Linked DNA regions of Homo sapiens: region 1 is linked to region 2. The links are contacts of gene promoters, found by promoter capture Hi-C in human tissues and cell types (Jung and others, 2019). All regions are on one chromosome and are shown on one strand. The core of a region is centred on a gene start or on the middle of the fragment in contact, and the rest is flanking DNA. Distances in the headings are between cores, read along the strand shown.

Evidence for each region. The method cuts DNA at HindIII sites, captures the fragments that hold promoters and counts their contacts. A contact is called where the count stands out against the background at its distance.
Region 1: a contact is called between a fragment that was not itself captured here and the fragment with the promoter of C3orf22 in region 2, in 4 of the 25 tissues and cell types used here (H1 embryonic stem cells, aorta, heart right ventricle and 1 more).

What each region holds. Positions count from the first base shown.
Region 1 is chr3:126,501,343-126,504,843 of GRCh38, forward strand. UROC1 (urocanate hydratase 1) reads right to left here. Exons shown (of 20, transcript NM_144639.3): 9 at 2,653-2,741. Among named protein-coding and RNA genes, the nearest start is that of UROC1, 15 kb to the right of the region's middle. The HindIII fragment of the contact is 6,165 bases long and covers 1-3,501 here.
Region 2 is chr3:126,556,781-126,560,196 of GRCh38, forward strand. C3orf22 (chromosome 3 open reading frame 22) reads right to left here and starts at 2,152. Exons shown (of 4, transcript NM_152533.3): 1 at 1,847-2,152. It overlaps LOC105374090 (a long non-coding RNA gene), which reads left to right and starts at 2,233. Exons shown (of 3, transcript XR_924455.2): 1 at 2,233-2,409. The HindIII fragment of the contact is 13,796 bases long and covers 1-3,416 here.

The sequences.
Region 1 (3,501 bases), core at 648-3,147, 56 kb before region 2:
CCTGCACCCCAGCTGCACACAGGGGCAGACCCAGGAGGCCACCAGAGGTGTTGTGTGCAAACGTGGGGGCCATGGGGCTGGGCCATGAAGCATGCCTGCAGGACCCCGACTTTTGTCCAGGACACAAAACTATAAAGGGAAAATCCAGACCCAAATTCCCCAGACCAGAAAACCCACATGGCAGTGGCAAAACTGCCTGGGCGATCCATGGAATTCGGGTTATTGATGTGGGTCCTCCACAGGGATCTTTACAGAACCCACCCAAGGTGGTCCCAGAGTTGCAGGATTCACTAAAGATGATTCCCAAAATTATTCGGAAAAATAGGACAGGAAAAATCAAAGCATATTTTGGGAAACAGAAGATTTGAACAGGCCTTGCAGGTAGTAGAGATATCAAAAAGCAGCAATGCACAGGGAAGGTGGTATGGTCCCCATGAAAGAGCAGATTGAATGCTTACCAGGAGTGGCCTGGAGAAGCCCGAGGGAGCCAGGCACCTCCCCTCCCCCAGGGGTGCAAGGTTGACAAAGCAGGAAAGGACACACAGTCCCAGGGCAGCAGGGAGGCCGGCCCAGCCCAGGGCTTGTTGCAATCCCAGCTGAAGGACCCTGTGGGAACCGTGAGCAGAGCTCACTCCATTCCCATGGGTCTTCCTCAGCTCGGGGGTTGCGGAAGTGTGGCAGACAGGTTGCTCGAGACAGTTCCTTAAACTGATTTTGATGTATGTGTATGTGTGTGTGTTCATGTGTGGATGTGCATGCATTTGTACATATATATGTATATATGCGTGTATATGCATATGTGTATGTATGCATGTGAGAATATATGTTATGGGCATGTGCGTGTGTGTGTTGCGTGTGTTTGTGTGTGTGTCTGTGTGTGTTTATGGTGTGTGCATGTGTCTGTGTGTTTATGTGTGTGTGCGCCTGTGTGTTTATGTGTTTGTGTGTGCTGTGTGTCTCTGTGCATGTTTATGCATGTGTGCATGTGTGTTGTGTGCGTTTGTGTGTTTGTGTTACATGCATGTTTGTGTACATGTGTTTACATGTGTTTATGTGTTGTGTGTGCATGTATGTGTGTTATGTGTTTGTGTTTATTATGTATATGTGCATTGTGTGTTGTGTGTGCATGTGTGTGCATACGTATTGTGTTTATGCATGTTAGTGTGTATGCATGTGTGTGTTATGTCTGTATTTATGTTTGTGCATGAGTTATGTGTTTATGCATGTTTGTGTTTGTGTGTGCATGTGTGTATGTCTGTGTCTGTATTTATGTGTATGTGTGTGTTTATGTGTGTGCATGTGTGCACTCTGTGTGTGCCTGTGTGTGCATGCATGTGTTGTGTGTCTGTTTATGTGTGTGTCTATGTATGTGTTGTGTGTTATGTGTCTGTTTATGTGCATGCATGTGTATGTTGTGTGTGTTTGTGTGTGCAAGTATGTGTGCATGTGTGTGCTGTGTTCTCTGTGTATGTGTGCTTATGTGTGTTAAGTGTGTTCATGTGTGTTACATGTGTGTTGTGTGTTTGTGTGTGCAAGCTTGTGTGCATGTGTGTGCTGCATTCTCTGTGTATGTATGTGCATGTGTGTGTTGTGTGTTTATGTGTGTGTTATATGTGTGTTTATGTATGTGGGTGTGTCTGTGTGGTTATATGTGTGTGCATGCATGTTGTGTGTGTTTATGTGTGTGCGTTTATGTGTGTGTGTGTGTACATGCACACACTCAGGATGCTAAACAGCCTGAATAGGGATGGGAGTTAGGTCGGGGAAGCCCCTCACAGCACACCTGGAGTGTGGAATTTCTTCTATCATTGATGAAAAATTATCTGAGAGTTCTAAAGAGGGTGCAATGTGGTTGGATTGGTATGTTAGAATGATAGGTCAAAATAGTTCACTGCATCGTTTCTCAAATTTTGTTTACATTTTCATCAGAAACAGCTTTTAAGCCCCTGTGGAGATTCTAGTTGAAGCCAGGTGGGCAACCACTGCACCGATGTGTCTTCCCGTAACAGGACTCTGCTCTGGGCAGTAAATTAATTGAGAGGATGCTTCAAAAGTGGCATCCGAGCAGGAGCCCCCAAGGCAGTCTTCCCACCATCCCACTGAAATACCTCTGAAGACTTTGCCTAGGGTTGAGGCGGAGAAACCCACCGACTGCCCCTCAGCACCGTGGGCGAAGCTCTGCCCTGGAGCACAGGGAGGGAGTGCACGCCTCACAGGCTCGCCACTGCAACAGCGCAGGGCAGCCCCTATCAGGCCGGGTGGCTCTGCGAGCCCACACAGCAGGGAAAAGAAGATTCATGCTTCGCAGAACCAGGTAAGAGCATGGGAGCCCCAAGAAGGCTACCTGAAGCCCATCAAGGCCAAGTGTCTGACACCAAGCCCACAGCCCAGTGGCTGCAGCCGGCAATGACGGAATGTTGGAGGCCCTTCCAGAGGCTTCTGCCCTATCACCACCCGCGGGTCAGCCCTTGTGTGCGTGTGTGTGTGTGTGCGCATGTATATGTACATGTGCATGTATGTGTGGTGCCCACATGTAGCCAGCTGTCAGGCATTAAACAGGCCCACACCAAGCTGCCCCATGGGGGTCCTCTTGTGGTCTCCTGCTGCCACGTGTCAGGTGTCAGGTGTCCGGAGTTGAGCTTGGAGCTGTACCTGAGCCTCTGGATGCAGCGGTCCAAGCTGTCAGTCACTTCCATCAGCCAGCCCTGCCTGTGGCGTTTCTCAAGGGCTGCTTTATCCACCTGGGGCCATGAGACATGGGGCCACGAGACATGGGGCCACCCGGTTACAAATCTTCCCTAAGTGTATCATCCTCAACTAGGAAGGTGTCATCCCCTGTAGGTCCCTTGCTTTTCTATAACACAGTCTCAGGGAAGACACCATGAGCTGCCCTCCCTCTATTTATTCCTTCTCCCACCTCCCTTATAAGCAGAACCCAGGTAGTGTTCAGGGTGACACGGTTCAGCCCCAGGAGATGGTCTACGTCCAAGCTAATCACAAGGACTTGTCCACGATCTCCATCCTCCCTTGCAGATAAGAACATCGATTTCAACTAAGACTGACCAATGAGATAAAAGGAGAGGGTTTGGAGACATGACTTTCCTGAAAAAATAGAGTCATAGCAGACACTTCCCTTCTCACCTCTTCCTGCCTTGAACATGGATAGGATGGCTAGGGTAGGGGCAGCCATTGTTTCTACAAGGGAAGCCCAAAGGAATCAAGAGATATTAACATCATTGAGCTGCCAAACCAATGCCAACACTGTTGGTTACGTGAGAAAAATAAAACCCTATTTACACAAGCCGCTGTAGGTAGGTTTCTTGTTACCTGCAGCTTGGTGCACTCCTAACAAGCACAGGTACGTATGATGTAGGTTTGGCATCAACTGAGTGCAAATCCCACTGGCACATATCGCCAAGCCTTGCCTCAAGGCTCCTTGCCTCCTCCACTTCCGACTTCCCTTCCTCTCCTTAGCACCCACCAAAGAAAGATGCGAGAGCC
Region 2 (3,416 bases), core at 902-3,401:
TCAGACTCACACACACTCAGGCTCACCCACACACACAGACTCACATACACACTCACACACAGACACCCCCCACACACAGACTCACATACACACACACACACAGACTCACACACATGCTCAGACTCACACACATAGACACACACAGACACATACACACTCACACACTCATACACACAGACACACATAGATTCACATACACACACATACAGACACATAGACACATACACACAGACCCACACAAACTCACATACACATACACAGATTCACATACACAGACTCACACATTCACACACAGATTCACACACACACAGATTCACACTCACACACAGACACATACAGACACTCTTACAGACTCACACTCAGACCTGACCTCATACACACCCCCACACACAGGCAGGTGGCCATCTGGGTGTGGCTGGCCTCAGCTCTGTCCCTATCCTCTGCTGCGTGACCTGGGAGCTCCTCGCTTCCTTGGTCCAAGGCAGAGGCTGCCCCCACCAGCCCATAACGCACCTTGCTTCCCTTCCCAATTCAAAGCAGCTGGCGTGACCTACTACCACACCTGGCATGATTCAAAATCCGATGATGTCTGGAGAGGAGCCCCTGGGGAACACGGGTAGCCCTTTCCAAATCTGGGATTCCGGAGTCCTCCAAAAGCCGGTGGGCTCGGGCAAGACTGCTCGGCAGTGATCCCATAATGTGCCATGCTGCTCATCCATCCCTCTGAGGGCGGGGTACTGGGCTAGCTGGGAGGCTGCCTGCCGCCAAGTGTGGAATCACTCAAGGCCCGAGGCGGGAGGCTGCACACTGGACACTGAACACAGGCCACTGGGACCATGGCCATGGCATGGGAGACCAGCCTGTCTGTGAGCCAGAACACACCCGCTCACCCACCGCCTCCGTGCCCCATCTCTGACTCTGGAAGATCAGCCATCCAGAGGGCCTTTGCCCTGGCCCAGAAATACTGCCAGCCCTGCTCACGACCTGTCCCTTGCCCGCACCAAGAAGTCCCTGGGCCCTGAAGGGCAGGCTTCCCCACTGACTTGCCCACTAGTCTAGTACAGGGTGCAGCTCTCTACACCAGTGCTGGCTAAAGGGGGTCTTGGTGGCCTCCGCCCCTGCAGCCCTGGCTGTTCTGAGGACTCTGGGATGCCTTCGCTGGGCCTAAGCCCACAGTCCTGCAGCCACAGCCTGGGCCAGGCCCCAGCTCAGCCCCTTCCTGTCAGGTGCACTTGGGTGAGTCACCTCCAGCCCAGGCTCAACCCTGAGGAGTGCGGGGCAGGGGAAGCCTGGGCCGGGACAGGCAGCAGGGCCACAGCAGGAGGCTGCAGAATGGTGCCTGTGGCCTCTAAGTGTCTGCTACATTCTATGCATAACCTCACTTCATTTTTTTTCTACCTGATGGAGAACGTATTATGCTCACCCCCATAATTCAAGTGAGGAAACTGAGGCTCCGGAAAGTTAACTGATTTGCCTGCATTCACACAGTGAGTCGGGGAAGAGGTTCAGGATGGGTGGCCTGTGCTCCTCCTGCTGGGCCATGCAGCCTCAAACAGTCCTGAACCGGGGAAGCAGCATTACCACAGGAATTGAGGGATCAAGGGAGACAGGAGCGCCCCTCAGCCCCACCCCATACCCTCCCACCTGACCCCTAGGTCATGGAGATGACCCTGTAAGCTGACTGCTGAATCTGCCCCACAGGGACAGGGCTGCTGCAGAGTCCAGGGCTGCCCTCTGCCATCATGACCCTGTCCCAGGCTCTTCTCCGCCACCCTGTTGCTGCTTCCCAAGTCCCTAACCGACTTGGGGACTGTCCTTTCCAGCCACACAGGCTGCTAGCACTCACCAGGCAGCTACCTTGAATTCTGGCAGTGACGATGATCAGGTGTGATCAGAGAGTCCTGGAACTGCTCCTATCCAGCAAGATGCTGGTGTGAGAGCCGCTGTGGCCCCCGAGGCTGGCAGGGCCCTGGCTACAGCCCTCTCTGGAAAGACCCAGTCCCAGGCTATGCCCAGAGCTTCCAGCCAGAAAGGACAAGCTGCAGGACCCTGTGGGCTGGCTTATGTGACGCCAGGCAGACTGAAGCTGGCCATGGTCCCAGCTGCCACATTACCACAGGAACAGCAGCCCCAGGGTCCCCGGACAGGCAGTGCCAACAAGCTCACTGCAAGGTCAGAAGCCCTTGAGGTCACAATTGGTGACATCACAGCTGCTGACCCATGAGGCTCAGACTCCAGCCTGAAGCCCCTCTGGCCCAGGGAGTGACTGCAAAGTCAGCAGCACATGGGCCAGGGCTGGCCAGCCTCTCAGCTCCACGCACCCAGACAGAAGCATCCACATCTGCACTCTTCATAGCAGAGACCTCTCCCTGTTCAGGTTCTGCATACAGAAGAGACGCCCAGAAATAGGTACAGACACTGAGGCTGCAGAAAAGCTGTTTCTGTGGAGGAGTGGACACCAGGTTGCAGGGGGTTGAGGAAGGAGAAGGCAGTGAAGGAGCTGAACTGGAAGTGGTTCAGCCGTTCACCTGTGCCACTGTCTACTGTACCCTACGACTTTTCACTTATTAGTGCTGTTCACCTGTGCCACTGTCTGCTATACCCTACGGCTTTTTACTTATTAGTGCTAACAGGGTTTTTATGGATTATTTAGGGTTTTCTATATGCCATCTGTGAACGGAGGTAACTTCACTTCTTCCTTTCCAATTCGAATGCTTTATATTTCCTTTTCTTGCTTAGTTGCTCTGGCTAGAACTTCCAGTACTGTGTTAAATAGAACTGGGGAAGGTGGGCATCCTTGTCTCCTTCTTGATCTTAGAGAAAAAGTTTCCAGTTTTTCACTATACAGTATGGTGTTGGCTGTGGGATTTTTGGATATATTGCCTTTATCATGTTAAGGAGTTGAGTGTTTTTATCATGAAAGAGTGTTCAATTTTGTCAAGCGTGTTTTCCACATCAATTGAAATGATCATGTCTTTTCCTCCTCATTCTAATAATGTAGTGTAGTACATTGATATTTTCATTATGAAAAAATAATCCTTACATTCTAGGGATAAATATTACTTGTTAATAGTGTGTAACACTTTTAATATGCTGATGAATTTCATTTACTAATATTTCATTGAGGATTTTTGCATGTGTATTCATAAGGGATATTGGCCCCTAGTTTTCCTTTCTTGTAGGGTCTTTGTCTGACTTTGGTATTAGGGCAATGCTGGCCTCACAGAATGAGTTAGGAAATGGTCCCACCTCTTCAACTTTTAGAAAAACTTTGAAAAACATTTATGTATGTTCTTTAGTAAGTGTTTGTTAGAATTCACGAGTGATATCATGTGGCCCAGGGCTTTTCTTCGTTACTGATTCAATCTCTTTACTAGTTATGAGTCTATTCATATTTTCTATTTCTCCCTGATTCA